Linked DNA regions of Homo sapiens: all the other regions are linked to region 1. Evidence: promoter capture Hi-C in 16 types of primary human blood cells and fetal thymus (Javierre and others, 2016). All regions are on one chromosome and are shown on one strand. Each heading gives the region's core, a stretch centred on a gene start or on the middle of the fragment in contact. The rest is flanking DNA. Distances are from core to core; before and after follow the strand shown.

The links. Contacts are between HindIII fragments. The CHiCAGO score rates a contact against its expected background, and 5 or more counts as called.
Region 2: the fragment with the promoter of TBX6 here is called in contact with the fragment with the promoter of TBC1D10B in region 1 in 14 of 17 cell types (naive CD8 T cells, non-activated CD4 T cells, neutrophils and 11 more); the score reaches 13.9 in naive CD8 T cells.
Region 3: a contact is called between the fragment with the promoter of GDPD3 here and the fragment with the promoter of TBC1D10B in region 1, in 17 of 17 cell types (naive CD8 T cells, fetal thymus, activated CD4 T cells and 14 more). The highest score is 15.0, in naive CD8 T cells.
Region 4: a contact is called between a fragment that was not itself captured here and the fragment with the promoter of TBC1D10B in region 1, in 17 of 17 cell types (megakaryocytes, M2 macrophages, erythroblasts and 14 more). The highest score is 21.3, in megakaryocytes.

What each region holds. Positions count from the first base shown.
Region 1 is chr16:30,368,675-30,373,469 of GRCh38, reverse strand. It overlaps TBC1D10B (TBC1 domain family member 10B), which reads left to right and starts at 2,976. Exons shown (of 9, transcript NM_015527.4): 1 at 2,976-4,242. The coding sequence starts at 3,287. It also overlaps a transcript of MYL11 not described here. RefSeq lists silencers at 3,091-3,380, 3,471-3,550. The HindIII fragment of the contact is 4,560 bases long and covers 1,362-4,795 here.
Region 2 is chr16:30,089,971-30,095,106 of GRCh38, reverse strand. It overlaps TBX6 (T-box transcription factor 6), which reads left to right and starts at 3,183. Exons shown (of 9, transcript NM_004608.4): 1 at 3,183-3,234; 2 at 3,866-4,031; 3 at 4,115-4,349. The coding sequence starts at 3,914. YPEL3 (yippee like 3) reads left to right here. Exons shown (of 4, transcript NM_031477.5): 2 at 1-4; 3 at 210-318; 4 at 2,308-2,793. The coding sequence ends at 2,397. RefSeq lists enhancers at 2,524-2,713, 3,846-4,719 and a silencer at 2,934-3,193. The HindIII fragment of the contact is 24,011 bases long and covers 1-5,136 here.
Region 3 is chr16:30,110,549-30,115,753 of GRCh38, reverse strand. GDPD3 (glycerophosphodiester phosphodiesterase domain containing 3) reads left to right here and starts at 2,217. Exons shown (of 10, transcript NM_024307.3): 1 at 2,217-2,414; 2 at 2,690-2,732; 3 at 2,961-3,096; 4 at 3,186-3,231; 5 at 3,330-3,448; 6 at 3,533-3,622; 7 at 4,233-4,366. The coding sequence starts at 2,276. It overlaps MAPK3 (mitogen-activated protein kinase 3), which reads left to right. Exons shown (of 9, transcript NM_002746.3): 9 at 1,046-1,649. RefSeq lists a silencer at 1,952-2,246. The HindIII fragment of the contact is 12,096 bases long and covers 180-5,205 here.
Region 4 is chr16:30,629,257-30,634,609 of GRCh38, reverse strand. No RefSeq gene overlaps it. Among named protein-coding and RNA genes, the nearest start is that of PRR14, 19 kb to the left of the region's middle. RefSeq lists enhancers at 1-192, 193-1,144. The HindIII fragment of the contact is 3,770 bases long and covers 284-4,053 here.

The DNA of each region.
Region 1 (4,795 bases), core at 1,727-4,226:
CGCGTGTCACCACGCCCGCCTAATTTTTTTGTATTTTTAGTAGAGACGGGGTTTCCCCGCGTTAGCCAGGATGATCTCGATCTCCTGACCTTGTGATCTGCCTGCCTCGGCCTCCCAAAGTGCTGGGATTACAGGCGTGAGCCACCGTGCCCGGCATCTAATTTTTTGTATTTTTAGTAGAGATGGCGTTTCACCATGTTGGCCAGGCTGGTCTTGAATTCCGACTTCAGATGATCCACCCGTCTCGACCTCCCAAAGTGCTCAAAGTGCTGGGATTACAGGCATGAGCCACCGCGCCGAGCCAAGAGGGATTTTTTGAGGCAAGATGCTTTGTGGTCTCAGGTTTTGTGCTGGGCCTTGGTTTCCCCTCTGTAAAAGGGAGATGTAGTTCCCATCCCACAGAACTTGCCTTATAACTAATAGAGACAGGAATGAATGCAGAAACTGACATACCAGAGCTGGTCAGGAGCCCAGAAGTGGAGGGCGCAGCAGCCCTGTCTAGGAGTATGGGAGTGGCTTCACGAGGGCCAGGGAGTCAGGTGCAGGTGGAGGAGCAGATGTGCTGGGCGGAGGGCATGGCCTGAGCAAAGGCCTGGAGAGCGGAAGATCAGAAGTGTTCAGGTGGCCAGAATTGTGATGGGGCTGGTGACCAGCCCCTGAGGGGCCTTTGCCAGGCACAGGACGGAGACCCTGGGGAACCTTGGAAAGGTTTCATGCAGAAGAAGGATGTGATCTAGTATGAGTCTAGAATATTTTCTCTGGGTACTGGTGTGGAGGCTGGAACTCAAGAGGGGAGGAAAAGACCCTAAAAGGACAGCCAGCTGGTCACTTTCTGTGAGGTGCCTTGATAGCCAGTGGCAGCTCACTTTATTCTGGCCAAGAGCCAGCTTGGCTGATTGTGTGACTTTGATGTACCCTCTCTTCTCCCTCTGGGCCTCAGTGACCCAGTCCCCTCCATGCAGCAGAAGTCTGGAAAAATAGTGGCTGAGGAAGCCCCAAGTTGGCAAGGACAACCATCTCCTTCTCCTCCCGCTCCCTCTAGGACCCGATGTCCTGAGGAAGATGCCTCCCCCTGCCCTGTCCCCCCTCCTCCAGGCCCATGCCGATACCTCTAAGACATTTTCTTTTCTGGGCACTGAGGCCCCAGCCACCTGTTGTCTCTAAGAAGAGAGAAGGAGCCACCCTAAACTTAGCAGCTGCCCTTAGCCTCCCACACCAGCCCCTCCCTGCCTCAGACAGCAGCTGCCTCGCCTTATAGGGTTACCACGGGGGTCCAGGCCAGGGAGGAGCCCACTTATTACTGGGTTCTGGGAGAGGAGGAGGACTCCAAAAAGGGGAATGGGAGGAGAGCTCAGGAAGCTTGGGTCAAACGGGAGATGGGAAAGGTGAGGAGAAGGAGATCAGACACTGAGTGGGAATTGACAGGACATGGGGCTGAGTTGGGAGTGAGGGACCTTAGAGGACTCAGAAACCAAGGAGGAGCTGAGAAGTCGGGAGCTAGGTCTCACTGGAATTCCAGGATGGTGGATGCTATATGGAAATCAGAATATGGGGGTCAGAGAAAGAAGAGGGCGTTTAGAAGTTGGAAGGTTGGAGCTCATAACGTCAGGTCTTTATGCTTGTGATCTAAGGACAACCTGGAGCGCTCATGAGATTGAGGTCGGGATTCTCAGTGGAACATGAGGAGCACAGAGGGATGTGGCAGTGAGGGGAGAGGGGTTGACGGGACTGGGGCCTTGGATCCCCAAAAGAATAGTAACACACATATGGGGAGTTCATGGTATTAGGGATTCATGGATTTGGGGTTTGAGATCCCCACTAGAAGAAATGGAGGGGGTACTCAGAGGGATAAGGTCTGAGGAACTGGAGCCTGGGTTCTGGGGAGGAGCTCAGATAGATGGGAACTGAGGAGAGGGACTTGGAGGTTGGGATTCCCGCAGGAAATGGGTGAAGCAGAGATATGGGTTGCTTATAGGATCTGGGGGCTCTGGCTATTGCCACCTGGGCCTGGAGTGTTGGGGTTAGTTGGGGGCCGAGATCGGAGAATTATAGAGTAAAGGATGAGAGTACTGGGTCAGGGCACTGGATCTGTGGTGGGGCTCAGGGTCCCACAGACCACCAGAGTGTGGGGCTCAGGAGCTGAACGAAGAATAGGGGACCGGAAAGGACTCGAGAGGGGGCAGCGCGGCACTCATTGGTTGAGGGCTGCACTAATGCCCCCGCCCCTTCTCCGTGCTGTCCCCAGCTGTCACCCTCCCATAAGGCTTGTCTCCGGTTGTCACCGACTATCCCTGGGCTGGCACCGCCTGCTGGCAGCATCTTTGCCCTTTGGATGCTCCCATTGGCTGAGACAGCTATCTATTTTCCTGTCCTGTGGCCAAAGTGGGAGAACACGATCATTGGCTGACGGGGCGAATTAATCTCTAGCTTGCCCCGCCTCCTCCCAGCTGTCATTCCTTACTGACCATTTTGGGAGACCTAAAGAATTCTTCAGCTCTTCCTATTGACTGCGGATGCTGTCTGTCACCGCCTAAATAGACATCACTGCCTGTCAATTTGACCTCCACCTGCTCCCCTTTTCATTGGCTCCCTTTTTACCATTCCTATTGGTTAAGAAGCCTCCAGGCCCCACCTCTTACTCGCACAGCCCTGCCTCCTCCTCCGCCCTTCCGCGGTCATTCACCCTTCAGTCATATTCATTGGCCAGGAGGTTCAGACCCCTGCGTTTCTATTGGTTATTTCTTTCGTCCCATCGCCCCCTGCCTTTCCTCGTCCTCTGATTGGTCTTACAGCCCTAGCTTTCTCCGTTTCCTCTTTCCAGATGACCCACCCCTTTTTCGCCTCCAGCCCCGCCCACGATTCCAACGATTGGCAGAAGCCCAGTTCTCTCTCTCCCACTATTCGTCCAAATCCTCTGACTAGGCGGGAGAAAAAAGGAGCGCGATGAGCCAGTCCGCGCGCAGGCGTGGAACGCCGAGACGCTGGCGCGGAGCCGGCTCTGCGGCGTGTGCGCAGGCGCGAGGTCGGCGGCTCGCCCCCAAGCAGGAGGGAGGGGGCGGTGGCGAGAGCGCGCGAGGGGGTGAGAGGGCTCGAGAGAGACCCCGGCGCGCGGCGCCCCCCGACCCCTGCCCCGCCTCTGCGCGCCCAGCGGCCGCTCCGCCCCCGGCGCGCGCCGAGCCGCGCCCTTCGCCCTCTCCCCTTTCTCGGCTGGCCTCGCCGGGAGGCCCGAGGGGCGGCGCCTTCTGCGGCCTCCCCGGCGGGGGGATGTGAGGGGCGGCCCGCGGCCATGGAGACGGGCACGGCGCCCCTGGTGGCCCCGCCGCGCCGTCATGGCGCCCCCGCGGCCCCCTCGCCGCCGCCCCGGGGTTCCCGGGCCGGGCCCGTCGTGGTGGTGGCTCCGGGACCTCCAGTGACTACGGCCACTTCGGCCCCCGTCACCCTGGTGGCCCCCGGGGAGGCGCGGCCCGCCTGGGTCCCGGGGTCGGCCGAGACCTCTGCTCCGGCCCCGGCCCCAGCCCCGGCCCCAGCCCCGGCTGTCACGGGCAGCACGGTGGTGGTGCTGACCCTGGAGGCCTCGCCCGAAGCCCCAAAGCCGCAGCTCCCCTCCGGCCCGGAATCCCCAGAGCCCGCGGCAGTGGCTGGAGTTGAGACATCGAGGGCTCTGGCCGCAGGGGCAGACTCGCCGAAGACAGAGGAGGCTCGACCCTCACCCGCCCCAGGACCAGGGACCCCCACCGGGACCCCTACCAGGACCCCTTCCAGAACGGCTCCTGGTGCCCTGACCGCCAAACCCCCGCTTGCCCCCAAGCCGGGAACCACAGTGGCCTCAGGAGTGACTGCACGGAGTGCATCAGGACAAGTGACAGGTGGGCATGGAGCTGCCGCAGCAACATCAGCATCAGCAGGACAGGCTCCTGAGGACCCCTCAGGCCCTGGCACAGGCCCCTCTGGGACTTGTGAGGCTCCGGTAGCTGTCGTGACCGTGACCCCAGCTCCGGAGCCTGCTGAAAACTCTCAAGACCTGGGCTCCACGTCCAGCCTGGGACCTGGCATCTCTGGGCCTCGAGGGCAGGCCCCGGACACGCTGAGTTACTTGGACTCCGTGAGCCTCATGTCTGGGACCTTGGAGTCCTTGGCGGATGATGTGAGCTCCATGGGCTCAGATTCAGAGATAAACGGGCTGGCCCTGCGCAAGACGGACAAGTATGGCTTCCTTGGGGGCAGCCAGTACTCGGGCAGCCTGTGAGTACCAGTGGGCACCCAGCGGGACCGCCTCGGGGAAGCAAAGGTTGGGGGAGGGCGAAACGAAAACGATACACTTTGCCCAGACTCTGGCAGCCCAGCCTCCTCTGAGGATCCACGGGGTGATCAGCGCGAGCTGCCGTGTCTTGAGCATCCTGAGGTGCCTGTGACATTGGCATGTTAGTGGAGTTTCAGACCAGGGGTCAAGAGGTCTGGGTTTAAGCCTTGCCTTTGATGGGTTGTGTGCCCTTGAGCTAGTGGCTTCCCCATTTCCGTGCCTCAGTTTTTTCCTCTATAAAGTGGATTGAATGAGATGATACCTGAGGTCATCCCTGCTCTTTGATGGGGAACTCCAGCTACAGGCCGGATATTCTGGAGGGTTGGTTGGGCGAGGGTTCTGGTAGAGACCCTTGGTCCCTTAGGGTGGATAGCCTGGGAGGGGTGCAGGCATCTCCCTTCCCCCATAGCCCTAGGTCCCAGGGATGGAGTAGAGAGGTGGGGAAGTCTGGCTGATGGAAGGGAGACTGTGCAGTCAGGATCCCGCTGTGAAACA
Region 2 (5,136 bases), core at 1,934-4,433, 280 kb after region 1:
CAGTGTGAGTATCTGGCCTCCCTTCTTGCTTTCCCTGACCTCTGTTGTGACCTGTGACCCCTGGCATCCTGCTGAGACTCCCAGAGTTCCCCGGTGCAGGCAGGAAATTGTGAGCATCATTTCTTGGATGCTGAGGACAGACACAGTGCTTGAGGGGGTGGGCCCTGTGATGGCAGGACCCTCCCTGGGACTACCCCATGTCCCCACAGGGTGAACGTGGGCTGCGGGCCAGCCGAGGAGCGGGTGCTGCTGACCGGCCTCCATGCTGTCGCCGACATCCACTGCGAGAACTGCAAGACCACTTTGGGCTGGAAATATGTGAGTCACCCACCTCTGACCCCAGGCTAGCCTTTGACCTGACCTTCCAACACCTCCTCCTGACAAGCTGTCACCCTATAGCCTTTCAGATTGCATAGGCCGAGCTCACACAAGTCAGCATCCCTGACCACATTCTCTTTATCTTGCACCTTGCAAGGGGTGTAGAACTTTTCTCTTAACCCATCCCTTCTCTCCCAGGCACTTGGATCCCCATTAGAGAGTTAGGATATAATCAGAGTCACCATTTATGGAATGTTTATGTGCCTTGCACTGTTGTGTGCCTGGCGTCTATTATCTCATTCAATCATTGCAGTGATCCTCTAGGTAGAAGCTATTATTATCTCTACAGAAGAAGACAGGGAGGCCCAGAGATGTTAGGTAACTTGCCCAAGATCACCCAACTGGTAAGTAACAGAATAGGGACCAGAATCTGAGTTGGTTGGTTGGTTTTTTTTTTTCACTCCAAACCCTTGGTCACCAGCTTATATTGTCATTTAGAGTATCAGAAAAATTGCCCCAGACTCTGCAACAACATGGAGCTTGGGTTCACCAGCCTCCCTTTCCATAGTCCTCATTGCCACTGCTGCTGTCCAGGGTCTGATTTCACTACCCTGAGTCTCATTTCCTTATCTCTCAGTGGAAGATAAAGCCACTGCCTAGCACCCAGGATTGTTACAGGGATCAGATTAGATGCTCAGGAAGATGCTCTTGGGACACTGCAAGGGACAGGATTCTTCAGGCGTCGCTTGGAACTGTGGTGCCTCTGTGAGGTGGATGTCCCAGGCAGAGCCAGCCAGCCAGCCCTGACCTGAGCTCGCTGCTGACCCTGCCACAGATTGGCTGTGTGTCTCTGGACAGGTGGCTTGGCCACTCTGGACCTCTACCAAATAAAGAGCTGGCCGGCCAGGCACAGTGGCTCACACCTGTAATCCCAGCACTTTGGGAGGCCGAGGCGGGTGGATCACAAGGTCAGGAGATTGAGACCATCCTGGCTAACACGGTGAAACCCCATCTCTACCAAAAATACAAAAAAAAAAAAAAAAAATCAGCTGGGTGTGGTGGCGGGCGCCTCTAGTCCCAGCTACTCATGAGGTTGAGGCAGGAGAATTGCGTGAACCCAGGAGGCAGAGCCTTGCAGTGAGCGGAGACAGAGCGAGACTCCGTTTCAAAAATAATAATAATTAATAAAGAGCTGGCCTAAACAAGAGGTCAAAAACTCAAGTGCCAGGCTGGGTGTGGTGGCTCACGCCTGTAATCCCAGCACTTTTGGGAGTCTGAGGCAGGTGGATCACCTGAGGTCAGGAGTTCGAGAACAGCCTGACTAACATGGTGAAACCCCATCTCTACTAAAAATACAAAAATTAGCTCGGCGTGGTGGTGGGCGCCTGTAATCCCAGCTACTCGGGGCCAAGGCAGCAGAATCACTTGAACCCGGGAAGCGGAGGTTGCAGTGAGCCGATATCGCGCCGTTGCACTTCCAGCCTGGGCGACAGAGCAAGACTCCCTCTCAAAACCAAACAAACAAAAAAACCTCAAGTGCCTGCAAGGCCAAGCAGATACTGTAGATGTGTAAAGGGTAGCATAGATTGGCAGGGTTGGGAGTTGGGGGCAGGCTGGGCAAACTGGAGTGAGCAAGGCCTACTTATATTTTAATACTTTAAAGTTATTTTTATTAAACTGTCTGCTGTCCAAACATAATACATGTTGTAGGCCAAAATGGCCATGAAGCTACCAGTTTGCAAACCCTGAACTGTGAAATCTTTTAGCCACTTCCCTATCTTCTCTGTTGGAGCCATCATTAGTACTTAAAAAAGTACCTTTGAGTCAGGGAGTTCTATTCTACTCTGTGTTTGTGAGAAATACGGCCCTGCCCCTCTGGGCCACAGTTTCCTCATATGTAAAATGGGGCCACTCATGTCCACTTCCCAACCCCAGTGCCTTGTGGTGAGACTGTTGCTCCGGGGATGACGGTCCCGCCCCTCCTTTCAGGAACAGGCCTTTGAGAGCAGCCAGAAGTACAAAGAGGGGAAGTACATCATTGAACTCAACCACATGATCAAAGACAACGGCTGGGACTGACCCCCGCTCCCCCGACGCATGTGGCTCCAGCCCGGCCTGGCCGCCAGGGAGCGCCACTGGCTTCCCGCCACCCGAAGGGAGCTCTGGACCCTCAGAGCCCCTGCAGAGGACGGATCTAGCTCCTGTATATATATTTTATTGCATGCACTGTGACCTTGGGGGGAGAACAGAAGGGGGACGACGCCCCCGCACCTCCTGCGATCTGGCTGGCTTGGATCTCGTTTTTAACCCGTTCCTGCCCCACCTGCCCTATAGTTATGGCCTGTGTTCTGCTCTCCTGGTCCCAGTGCACCGTCTGCTCTGTGAACTCCTCCCACCAGGCCCTTCTTACCCCACGCGTGTCTGTCCCCCTCGTTCTGTAGCGTTTGTACATAATAAAACAATGGAGTGGAGACAGCTCAGGCTCGCGTGTAATCCGGGAAGGGGGAGCTCAAGCGGAGATTTCCGCCCCTATAGACCTGTGCGGTTCTGAGCCCCGGCGGGGCATGGGGTAGGCACAGCCGTCCAAGCTGGGTCTCCGGGAACCGGGACGGTTTCACTGCTGGCGGAGGTCCTGAGCCCACTCTGGCTGCCTACGCCGTGACCTCGGCTGATCTGCGTCTGCTCATCTGCAGCGTTTGGCCGCCGCCTAGGGGCAGCGTCCCAGGGAGGCAACCGCGCCGCCGGCCTCGCAGCCCCCTCGCGGTCGGACTGCAACTCCCAGCGGCCCCCGCGTGGTCCGTCCGGCTCCTTCGGGCGCGCCTCAGCGCTGAGCCTGCCGGGAAGTGTAGTTCCGAGGGTTCCCCAGCGCGGGACCTTCGGGAAACCCTGGCGCGAGGCGTCAGAAGCTGTCGGACTGTGAGCGCCTTCGAACTTTGGAGGCTTGGCTCGGGATGGAGGTTTTTTTAGCATGGGGACCAGGGAGGACTACGGTGCTCGGGACTGGGCTGCGGCCTCCTCGCGGCCCCGAGTGCCCTGTGAAATCAGCTCAGGCCGCGTCCCTCTAGCCTGCACTTTCCCTCTGTTCACGCTGCTTCCCTCCAGGGCCCGGCCTCCAAGTGAAGGGGGGCGGAGGGCGGTCACCTGCCAGAAGGTCTGGGGCGCCAAGGTGTGTCCCGGGACTCTTGGCTCCGTCCAGGTTCCAGGCCCCGCCCCCCAGCTTATCCCTAGCCGGGGCTCCCCACCGTGGGAACGGGGACCAGCTGGCCGGAAGCGCCAAACTGCGTCCCTGTCCGAGCCCTGGGGATCAATCAAGCCGAGGAGTTAATTATGTAATGAGGGGGCAGGGGGTCGAGGCTAATGAAGCCTCCCGGGGTGGGGAGGGAGGGGAGGAGGGGACCGTACCCAGGTATCCGACCCCCTCTCGGACCCCTTCGAGGCCCCAGGGGTCTCCACCCCAGCCCAACTCCAGGGCCCCAAAGAGGGGAGGGGCTGTGATCCTGGATCTGGAAGGGGCTGAGCTGTGAGCTATAAAGGGGGCATCTCGCAGCACCGGGGGCCCTAAGCAGCGAGACCTGAGGCCAGACGGAACTACAACATGTACCATCCACGAGAATTGTACCCGTCCCTGGGGGCCGGCTACCGCCTGGGGCCCGCCCAACCTGGGGCCGACTCCAGCTTCCCACCCGCCCTAGCGGAGGGCTACCGCTACCCCGGTGAGCGTTGGGACCAGCTCCTGGGTAGGAGAATAGGGGGGCTGTGGCCCTCGGCTGGCTCCTCATTCTTCCCCGGCTTCCAGAACTGGACACCCCTAAACTGGATTGCTTCCTCTCCGGGATGGAGGCTGCTCCCCGCACCCTGGCCGCGCACCCACCTCTGCCCCTTCTGCCCCCTGCCATGGGCACTGAGCCGGCCCCATCAGCTCCAGAGGCCCTCCATTCCCTCCCGGGGGTCAGCCTGAGCCTGGAGAACCGGGAGCTATGGAAGGAGTTCAGCTCTGTGGGAACAGAAATGATCATCACCAAAGCTGGGAGGTGAGGGGCTGGCCAGGGTCCGTGTTTCTGGTGGGGGTCTCTTGGGAAAGGCAGAGTCCCTGGGGAGGGGGCTAGGACTGGGTGGTTCCCGAGGGGCTAGAGCTCTGCCTAGGCCTAGAATCTGACTATGGCCTGGGGCAAGGGTTACTCTGTGGCAGGAATCAGGAGTCACTCTGTGACAAGGGTTAAGGGCCAGTCTGTGGAGTCTGTGGCTGAGTTTAGGGACCAATCTATGGCAAGGGTCATGGGTCAGTCTGGGGCAGGGTCAGGAAGTCCCTCTGGGTTATAGGTTAGTGTGTGGCTTAGACCAGCATCCAGACAAGGACAGGGGGTCAAGGGCCAGCCCATTGACCAGCATCAGGGAAATCTGGCCAGGATTCGGGATCAGTATGCAACTCGAATAGGAGTCAGTATATGACTAGGTCCAGGGTCACCCTAGAGGCAGGGACACGGTCAGTGTTTGACCTTAGATGAGGTCTTTAGCTGGGGCAGGAACTCAAGCCCTAGCATGGAAAGTCCTCGGCCCTACTGCAGGCAGGGTATATTTTTTCTAAAGCAAATTCATCTAAGAGCTGCAGATTCTGGTGCTGGAGATCAGGGGAGGAGAGGAGGGTGGGGACAGGAAGCTCCTAGCAAGAAAGTTAGTCACCCCTGCTTCTGCAAATAGGCTTTGAGGGGTAGGAGTCATGGCTCTGTTCCTAACCTGCTGTGTGACAGATCACTTAACCCGTCTGTCCTGTTTCCCCAAATGTAAAATGAGACAAGAAAACCTTCCAGCTCTAAGATT
Region 3 (5,205 bases), core at 968-3,467, 260 kb after region 1:
CCAAGGCTGCCCAGACTGGTGGCCCACCGAGTCCTCCAGCCCCAAATGTCTCTGCCTGTCAACACCTTGCATCCTCCAGCCCCACAAGCCATTCTAATCTCCTTCTAGGAACAGAACTGGCAAAGAGGCAAGAGGTCACTGAGGGCCTCTGTCACCCAGGTGAGGACCTGAGCCAAGCTTCAGCTCTGGGTGTGGCAGAAGCAGGTGGGGCCATGATTGCTTTGGGAGGGGCCCAGCAGCGCCCAGCCTGACCCAGATTGCCAGGCCTCCTCACACCTGCTGCCAGATCAGCAGTTCACATAGCTGTGGGGACCCCACTGGCCTGCCCCCACCCACGCTGCCTCCTTGCCTCCTCCGGTCTCTTCCTGTCTTCAGCCAGGTGTGGCCTGATAGAAAGAAGGCATGCGCACCTGGGCTCAAACTCCAGCTGTGCCACTTAGTAAGTGCTGTGTGATATTGGGCAAGGCACCTCACCTCTCGGCGCCTCAGTTTCCGGAGTCAATCTATTTATCTTTTTTTTTGGTTTTGTTTTTTTGAGACAGTGTCTCGCTCTGTCACCCAGGCTGGAATGCAGTGGTGCAATCATAGCTCACTGCAGCCTCAAAACTCCTGGGTGCAAGGGATCCTCCCAGCTAGCTGGACGAGCCATTGCAACCGGCTAATTTTTTTTTTTTTTTTTTGTGGAGCTGGGGTCTTGCTATGTTGCCCAGGCCAGTCTCAAACTCCTGGGCTCAAGCGATCCACCACCTCAGCTTCTCAAAGTGCTGGGATTATAGGCGTGAGCCACTGTGCCCGGCCGAGACAGTTCTAATAATGAAAGCATAAAGCCCTAAGCATTGTTCTAAGAGGTTTACATGTATTAATTCCTTTAATCTTACAGCAGTACCTCAAGCTAGGTACTATTATTATCTCCATTTACAGATAAGGAAACTGAGACCCAGCCTATCCAGCTGTGAGGGTGAAATGAGAGATGTTGAGGTCAGGGCTCCAGTGGGTCTGCCCGGGGGGTGCTAACGACTCCTCTTCTGCCTGCTTCTCTCTTTAGGACCTGCCTCCTGCCTGCCCCTCTCCCGCCAGACTGTTAGAAAATGGACACTGTGCCCAGCCCGGACCTTGGCAGCCCAGGCCGGGGTGGAGCATGGGCCTGGCCACCTCTCTCCTTTGCTGAGGCCTCCAGCTTCAGGCAGGCCAAGGCCTTCTCCTCCCCACCCGCCCTCCCCACGGGGCCTCGGGACCTCAGGTGGCCCCAGTTCAATCTCCCGCTGCTGCTGCTGCGCCCTTACCTTCCCCAGCGTCCCAGTCTCTGGCAGTTCTGGAATGGAAGGGTTCTGGCTGCCCCAACCTGCTGAAGGGCAGAGGTGGAGGGTGGGGGGCGCTGAGTAGGGACTCAGGGCCATGCCTGCCCCCCTCATCTCATTCAAACCCCACCCTAGTTTCCCTGAAGGAACATTCCTTAGTCTCAAGGGCTAGCATCCCTGAGGAGCCAGGCCGGGCCGAATCCCCTCCCTGTCAAAGCTGTCACTTCGCGTGCCCTCGCTGCTTCTGTGTGTGGTGAGCAGAAGTGGAGCTGGGGGGCGTGGAGAGCCCGGCGCCCCTGCCACCTCCCTGACCCGTCTAATATATAAATATAGAGATGTGTCTATGGCTGACCCTGGCTCTGTCTGTGTTCGCGACGCCCCCGCCCTGCCCCGTGCGGCTCTGAGGACAGACTTGACTTGGGCTTTCAGGGGCCTGGTGCCCTTCACTCCCAGCTGCCCAGGGCTGGGGACGGGGCTCTGGAGAGCTCCAGACTCCTAGAAAGAAGGGGGTCAGTTTTCCCCTTAGTCACTGTCCTGTCCTCTCGCTAATGGCTTCCTGTCTAACTGGCTGGGGGTGATTCGGGGTGACTCAGGAGCACCCTACACACCCCTGGATCCTCTGAAATGGCAAGGGGTAGGCATGTTGGATGCGCTGGCTACAAGTACCAGTGAGAGGGAGAGGTCCTGACAGTCCTGGGTGGTTTTTACTCCCCTCATGTAGCCCAGGACGGGGCTGCTGGGGGCTGGGAAGGGCCTGGGGATATGAGAGCCAGGGCTACTTGCCTCACCTCCTGACACTACCCCAGCTTCAGCCGAACCCTGCAGCCTGGCTCCAAGCCAGCCCAGCGGCAGGCTCAGCAGGTCCCAGGGGCGTGGCAGTGGCCAGTAGTAGAGCCGGCCCACACTGGCTAGGCAGGCAGCACAGTCCCGCGGACGGCTGAGCGTGTGGCTGCAGGAGCTTCTGTGGGAGTACGGTCATGAGCCTTTTGCTGTACTATGCCCTCCCTGCCCTGGGCAGCTATGCCATGCTCTCCATCTTCTTCCTGCGCCGGCCTCATCTGCTGCACACGCCCAGGGCTCCCACCTTCCGCATCCGCCTGGGGGCCCACCGAGGAGGTGAGCCGGGTAGGGGTGAGAACAGGTGCCAAAGTGGACAGCACAGAGGGGTAGGTCCAAGGGGGCATGCTAGAAACGGGGCAGGGACCAAGAGAGAAGGAGAGCGAAGTGGCAGGGCAGGGTGTGGACGAGGAAGAAGATGCTGGCGCAGCCTGGGCTGGCTGGGGAGGTGAGGCCAGAGGGAGGATGGAGCCCAGAGAGGGAATGTGGGTGATGAGGTTGGGCCAGGCCCCTAGACCCCAAGCCCCAGAGGCCCACTCCAGTGCCCCCCACAGGATCTGGAGAGCTGCTGGAGAACACCATGGAGGCCATGGAGAAGTGAGTGTATCTGCCCCTGCCCAGGCTGCCATGTGAGGGTGTGCAGGTCGTGGACTGCATCACAGCAAGGGACGCCATTCACTTCCTAGCTGGGTGACTGGCGCCCCCTGGAGGTGGCCTGCACATCCCGCCACGAACTCCGCTCTCACATTCCCGGCCACCTCCCAGCCACCATGCCCCTCATCCCAGTCCCCTGCCCCTGCCCCCCGCTGACCTTCACCCCCACAGCTCCATGGCCCAGCGCTCGGACCTCCTGGAGCTCGACTGTCAGCTGACACGGGACAGAGTGGTGGTGGTGTCACATGATGAGAACCTGTGCCGCCAGTCGGGCCTAAACAGGGATGTGGGCAGCCTGGACTTCGAGGTGGGCCCTGCCCTGACACCCCAACCCCCACCCTGAGAGTCACCATGCCCAATGCGGGCCTCTAGTGACATCCTTCCTGTCCTCCCCAGGACCTGCCCCTCTACAAGGAGAAGCTGGAGGTTTACTTCTCTCCAGGTGAGAGCAAGGGCTTCGAGCCCTGCCTGGGCCATGCCTGCCTTCCTTGGACCTCCGCCTTGGCTTCCCTCTGACCCCTTTTCCCACACCACCCCCAGGCCACTTTGCTCACGGGTCAGACCGGCGCATGGTTCGTCTGGAGGACCTGTTCCAGAGGTTTCCAAGGACACCCATGAGCGTAGAGATCAAAGGGAAGAACGAAGAGCTCATCCGTGAGGTGGTGCTGCAGGCAGGGCTAGGGCGGCCACCGGGGGCGTGAGAGAGGCCTGGCTCTCCCTTCACCTCCTTCTCCTCCTCCCAGATAGCAGGCTTGGTGAGACGCTATGACCGTAATGAAATCACCATCTGGGCCTCGGAGAAGAGCTCGGTCATGAAGAAATGCAAGGCTGCCGTGAGTCCCCCCACCCCTCCCCCGTCCTCTTCCTCCTCCAGGGGCCCCTCCTCCCCAGAGCTGGAGCCCACCCAGCATGGGGACCCGAGCTAGAGGGGTCTGGGAGAGTTCCCAGTGGCGTGGCGGTGGCAATGAAAAGGGTGTGAACTCAGGCCTCGAACACAGAGCCAAGATGTGACTTTTGTTTTTTTTCTTTTTTGAAACACAGTCTCTCTCTGTCGCCCAGGCTGGAGTGCGGTGGTGCGACCTCGGCTCACTGCAACCTCTGCCTCCTGGGTTCAAGCGATTCTCATGCTTCAGCCTCCCGAGTAGCTGGGATTACAGGTGCACGCCACCACGCCCAGCTAATTTTTGTATTTTTAGTAGAGATGGGGTTTTACCATGTTAGCCAGGCTGGTCTTGAACTCCTGATCTCAGGTGATCCACCTGCCTCAGCCTCCCAAACTGCTGAGGTTACAGGCGTGAGCCACCACACCCAGCCCCAAGATGTGACTTGGATCCTGCAGGTAGTAGGGCCTCTGGAATGCCCACCACGGCTCCCCTGCAGCTCATGCCTCCTCTCTGCTTCCCCAGAGCAGACAGATTCTCATGCCTCTCCTTGCCTCCCCAGAACCCCGAGATGCCCCTGTCCTTCACAATAAGCCGAGGATTCTGGGTGCTGCTTTCCTACTACCTGGGGCTGCTGCCCTTCATCCCAATCCCTGAGAAGTTCTTCTTCTGCTTCCTGCCCAACATCATCAACAGGTACCAGTGGGGGGCGGACCTCAGAAAAACTCCCCACTGCTTAGGGTCTCCGTGGAGAAGGAGCCCAGATCTTCCCAGCTCCCCAGCTCCCCTCAGAGATAACCCCCAAGGTCTTTTAAGGACAGTGGTTCTTACCCAGCATTCATGAATACTAAGGGAACTGTGAACACCCTGAAATTCTGTGCATATGTGGAGTTTTAGGATAGAGAGGTAATTTATCCATCTCAGGCCATCTAGCATATTTTATTGAATGTCTACTCTGTCCCAGGTGCAGTTATAATGTGTAAATGAGACCAGTGAGGGTGGGGAGAGGTCCTTGGTGAGCTTACAGTCTGGCTGGGGAGACATTCGTTCATTAATTATAGCACGGCTGTCTCAGACCCTCAGCAGGAAAAGGCCAAGTCAGTGTTCTGCAGGAAGGCAGGGGTTAACAAAGTAACAGCTGGGGAAAGGATCAGGAATTTGGATACTTCGCTGGCACTTAAGCCTAGTCCCTCCCTTTGCTTTACAATTTTTTTTTTTTTTTTGAGACAGTCTTGCTCGGGCTGGAATGCAGTGGCCAGATCATGACTCACTGCGCCTCGACCTCCTGGGCTCAGGAGATCCTCCTGCCTCAGCCTCCTAAGTAGCTGGGAGTATAGGCGTGCAACACTGCACCTGGCTAATTGTTAAATTATTTGTAGAGACAAGGTCTCACTATGTTGACCAGGCTGCTCTTGAACTCCTCAGCTCAAGCGAGCCTCCCACCTTGGTCTCCCAAAGTGCTGGGATTACATACCTGAGCCCCTGGGCCCGGTCTCCCTTTGCTTTCTGACAGCTTCTCTGTGGTAGTCCCAGAG
Region 4 (5,353 bases), core at 919-3,418, 260 kb before region 1:
AGTCTCGGAACCCGCGGGCCCCCGAACACGTCTGCCTGCTTGGTCTTCTTTGAACCCAAGTCCCACCGCCCACCAGGATCCTAATGACGCCGGCCTGGGGAACTCCCACGCACGCGCCGTTCAAACGCCCCGCCCTCCGCGGCCCAATCACCGCACACCTTGTTTGGACGTTCGACCAGAAGCGTCCTATCAGCGAGCGCGATCCTAGAGACTGACCAGGATCCGTGACGCCCGTTCGGGTGGGCAGTGCCAGTGCGCTGAAGGGCAAGCCTCAGGGGAAGCTTGTTCCTTATTTAGTAAGATTAGCTTGACTAAGGGAGCGAAGGGCGTCACACTGCTTTTGGAAACAGGTGGTGAGGCTGGCGTCGCCATGTTTTCTAAGGGACTTTCTCAGGATCAGATCCAAGAGTGGTCCTTTAGGGCTTTTTTTTTTTTTTTTTGAGACGTTGTCTCGCCCTGTCACCCAGGCTGGAGTGCAGTGGCGCGATCTCGGCTCAGTGCAACTTCCGTCTCTCGGGTTCAAGCAATTCTCCTGCCTCAGCCTCCAGGGTAACTGCGATTACAGGCTCCCGCCACCACGCCAGGCTAATTTTTGTATTTTAAGTAGAGACGGGATTTCACCATATTGGCCAGGCTGGTCTTGAACCCCTGACTTCCAGTGATCCGCCAACCTCAGCCTCCCAAAGGGGCTTTTAAATGTAAGGGCCGCGCAGGGGCTCCGGGTAGGGCATGAAAGGTTGGGAGGGGCCCTAGCCATTGTCTTTTTTGTTATTGTTAAGGCTGACTTTTTTTAGGCTGTCGCCCATTCTAGAATGCAGCGGCGTGATCTTGGCTCACTGCAGCCTCGACTTCCCTGGCTCAAGTGATCCTCCCACCTCAGCCTCCCGAGTTGCTGGGACCACAGGTGCCACACCGCGCCCGCTTAATTTTTTTTTCTTTATATATATTTTTTTGTAGTGACGGGGTTTCGAACTCCAGGACTCAACGGAGCCTCCCATCTCAGACTCTGGGTGAGATTATAGGCGTTAACCATGACTCCCTACCCAGTATAAACTCAAACACACCAGGCGCAGCAGCTCACGCCTGTAATCCCAGCACTTTGGGAGGTGAAGGCAGGTGGATCACCTGAAGTCAGGAGTTCGAGACCAGCCTGGCCAACATGGCGAAATCCCGTCTCTACTAACAATAACAAAAATTAGCTGGGCGTGGTGGCAGGCGCCTGTAATACCAGAGATTCAGGAGGCTGAGGCAGGAGAATCGCTTGAACCCAGGAGGTGGAGGTTGCAGCCAGCCAAGATCGTGCCATTGCACTCCAGCTGGGGCAACAAGAGTGAAACTCTGTCTCAAAAAAACAAAAACAAAAGCAAATAAAATATTGCTGGGCGCGGTGGCTCACACCTGTAATCCCAGCAGTTTGGGAGGCCAAGGCGGGCGGATCACTTGAGGTCAGGAGTTTGAAACCAGCCTGGCCAACATGGTAAAAACCTTTTCTCTACTAAAAATACAAAAAAATTAGCCCAGCGTGGCAGTGGATGCCTGTAATCCCAGCTACTTGGGAGGCTGAGACAGGAGAATCCCTTGAACTCGGGAGGTGGAGGTTGCAGTGAGCCGAGATCATGCCATTGCACTCCAGCCCGGGCGACAGAGCGAGACTTTGTCTCAAAAAAAATAAAAAAATAAAAAAACCAAACATTTAAAAAATAAAAAACCAAACGAGGCTGGGCACGGTGGCTCATGCCTCTAATCCCAGCACTTTGGGAGGCTCAGGCAGGCAGATCACTTGAGGCCAGGAGTTGGAGACCAGCCTGGCCAACATGGTGAAACCCTGTTTCTACTAAAAATACAAAAATTAGCTAGGCATGGTCATGGGAGCCTCTAATCCCACAGGCTGAGGCAGAAGAATCGCTTGAACCTGGGAGGTGGAAGTTGCAGTGAACTGAAATTGCGCCACTGTACTCCAGCCTAGGCGACAGAGCGAGACTCCATCTCAAAAAATAAAACAAAACAAAACAAAACAAAAATGAAAAAAAAAAAAAATAGCTGGGCATGGTGGCGGGCGCCTGTGGTCCTAGCTCCTCAGGTGGCTGAGGCGGGAGGATCTCTTGAGCCCAGGAGTTTGAGGCTGTAGTGAGCTGTGATTGCACCATTGCACCCCAGCCTAGTGACACAGTGAGACCCCATGTCCATACACAACAAAAGCAAAAGAGGAATACAAAAATAGCTATATATTTTTAGTGTTTGCATTTAAGAAACTGATGCTTTTAACACAGTAATACATTACAATATAATTATTATACTCACAATATTGTTACAAGAGAAAAATAATACATAAGGCAAGATAATGAGGCCTAGTTCCTAATGAGGGTTTTCTTTCAATTCAGTGTCTCTAGGTCCAGAATACTTGCTTGAGGCTAAAATAAAGGTTTAAATTTTAGAGTTTTGGCTGGGTGTGTTGGCTCGGGCCTGTAATCCTTGCACTTTGGGGAGCCAAGATAGGAGAATGGCTGGAGCCCAGGAATTTGAGGTTACAGAGAGCTATGATCATGCCATTGCACTTCAGCCTGGGCAACAGAGTGAAACCCTGGCTCTTAAGAAGGAAAAAAAAGTTCGATAAGTATCCCCAACTTCCTAGTTGAGGACCTGTCAGAGTTGTTCCCCTCTTCCACCAGGGACTTCCTCTGGGTCTCCTACACCTGCTCTGCCTAATTTCTTCTCCCTCAGGATCTAAGAGGTCCAAACCACCTTTTAAATTTTTTTAATTTTTTTTGAGACAGAGTCTTGCTCTGTTGCCCAGGCTGGAATGCAATGGGGCGATCTCGGCTCACTGCAACCTCCGCCTCCCAGGTTCAAGCGATTCTCCTGCGTCAGCCTCCCAAGTAGTTGAGACTATAGGCTCCTGCCACCACACCTAGCTAATTTTTGTATTTTTAGCAGAGACGGGATTTCACCATATTGGCCAGGCTGGTCTCGAACTCCTGACCTTGTGATCTGCCTGCCTCAGCTTCTCAGAGTGCTGGGATTATAGGTGTGAGCTACCATGCCTGGCCAACCACCTTGTCTCTTGGATGGGACAAAAAAAGCTGAGATCTGTGGTATCCGAAGTTGGGGATCCCAAGGAGAAGGAAGGTTCCAAAAGATCCTGTTGAGACAAGAGAACCCTTGTATGCCTCAAGTCAGACTTCTCAGGGCCTATCATTTGCAAAGATCTCCCACTACAGAAACTGTCTGGGGCAATTTCAGTACCTTTTCTAGGCATTTCCATTCTCTTAGATTCCAGGTGGCACCAGGCTTCTTCCAGGCTTGAGGAATATAACAGTGGGTTTCTATTTCCTTCTTCTTTTTTGTTTATTTATTTGTATATCAATGGGTTTCTAAAAGTAACACAACTGGCCAGGCACGGTGGCTCACGCCTGTAATCTCAGCACTTTGGGAGGCCGAGATGGGCAGATCACCTGATGTCAGGAGTTCGAGACCAGCCTGACCAACATGGCGAAACTCCATCTCTACTAAAAATACAAAAAGTAGCTGGGCGTGTTGGCATGCACCTGTAGTCCCAGCTACTCAGGAAGCTGAGACAGGAGAATCACTTGAAGCTGGGAAGCGGAGGTTGCAGTGAGCCGAGATCCCACCACTGCACTCCAGCCGGGGCGACAGAGTGAGATTCTGCCTCTAAATAAATAAATAAATAAATAAATAAATAAATAAATAAATGTAACACAACTAAAATCTTTTCTTCACTCACCCCTTTCCCTGTGAATGATACAGAGAGAGAGGGCTGCAAAGTACAGGTAGGGAGGAAAGCTATATTTTGTTTAGCATATAACTGAACTCAGGTCTTGTACCACATTCTTTTTAAAGAGGGTCCCTTTAATTATCACACTTAATCTTCGTGACAACCCTAAGAGGGAGAAATTATTATCCTTGGAAATTAAAGCAGAAAGGCTCTCTTGCCAGTGAGGAGCAGAGGTTAAGTTTGCTTTGTAAATGGGAATTCTCAAGGAAACATAAGCTCTTTGGAAAGGGGCCCAAAGATGACTTTAAGTGTTTGAAGCTTTAGGTACATTGCTTTTGGTTGGAGTGGGAGAGTTGTGAAGGTCAGTCCATGCCTGGAATCCCTCCAAGGTGAAGATCAGTGTTTCCTGTGCCAGTCATTTAAAAAGATTAGAATGGGCCGGGCACGGTGGCTCATGCCTTAATCCCAGGGATTGGGAGGCTGAGGCAGGAGGATCACTTGAGCCCTGAAGTTCGAGACCAGCCTGGGCAACATGATGAAACCAGGTCCCTACAAAAAATGCAAAAATTAGCCGGGCATGGTGGTGCATGCCTGTAGTCCTAGCTCCTTGGTAGGCTGAGGTGGGAGGATCACTTGACCCTAGGAAGTCGAGGCTGCAGTGAACTGTGATTGCACCACTACACTGCAGCCTAGCGATGGAGTGAGACCCTGTGTCTGTCTCTGTCTCTCTCTCTCACACACACACATGCACGCACACACACACACACAGTAGCACGAGTTGGGATCTCAGTTTTTTTATCCAGATTGAGGGTAATATCTTCTAGAAGTCTAAATGAATCAGCCTGAGAGAGTGATGGAAATGGGAGATACCCTAATAGCCAAGGAATGGAACACTGAAGCTGACTGTACTTCTATTGATGGCTGTTGTGATATCTGTTCTTCTTGGTTTAAAAGAATTTAGACAAGAGACACAACAAAAAAAGTGTAGCATATAGTAATTTATTGCAAAAGAAAAAATATTTTGTAAGTTAGATGCCACAGCCTGGGCAACCCGTTTCTACTAAGAATAGAAAAATTAGCTGTGTGTGGTGGCACACACCTGTAGTCCCAGATACTCGGGAGGCTGAGGTGGGAGGATTGCTTGAGCCCGGGATGCGGAGGTTGTAGTGAGGTGAGATCGCATCTCTGCACTCCAGCCTGGGTGACAGAGCGAGACTCTGTCTCAAAGAAAAAAAAAAGTTAGGTGCAGAATAGACAGGACATCCTGAGAGCGTGAGGATTCTGGGCGGGCTGCTGGTAAGGATGAGACAGCAAAGACTGACACTAGGAAGAGTCCCTTTATGGGAGTCTTACACGATTATTCATAAGGGGATGGGAAGAGGTGTCACTAGTAAGCTTGTTCTGGGTGGTCCTCTGGGTGCACATGCACAGTAGCTGTACATGCTTGTTCATTCCTCGTCATTCAGCATCTTAAATCTCCACCCAGGGGTGTGTTTTTACTATTATAATGAGGAAAGGATCAGTTTGAGGACGGGTAAAATGAAAATGTGCATGCTCTCTAGACGGGACAGTCCCTACTGAAGATAGCTTTGCTTGAATGAGCTCAATTACAATGCGAAT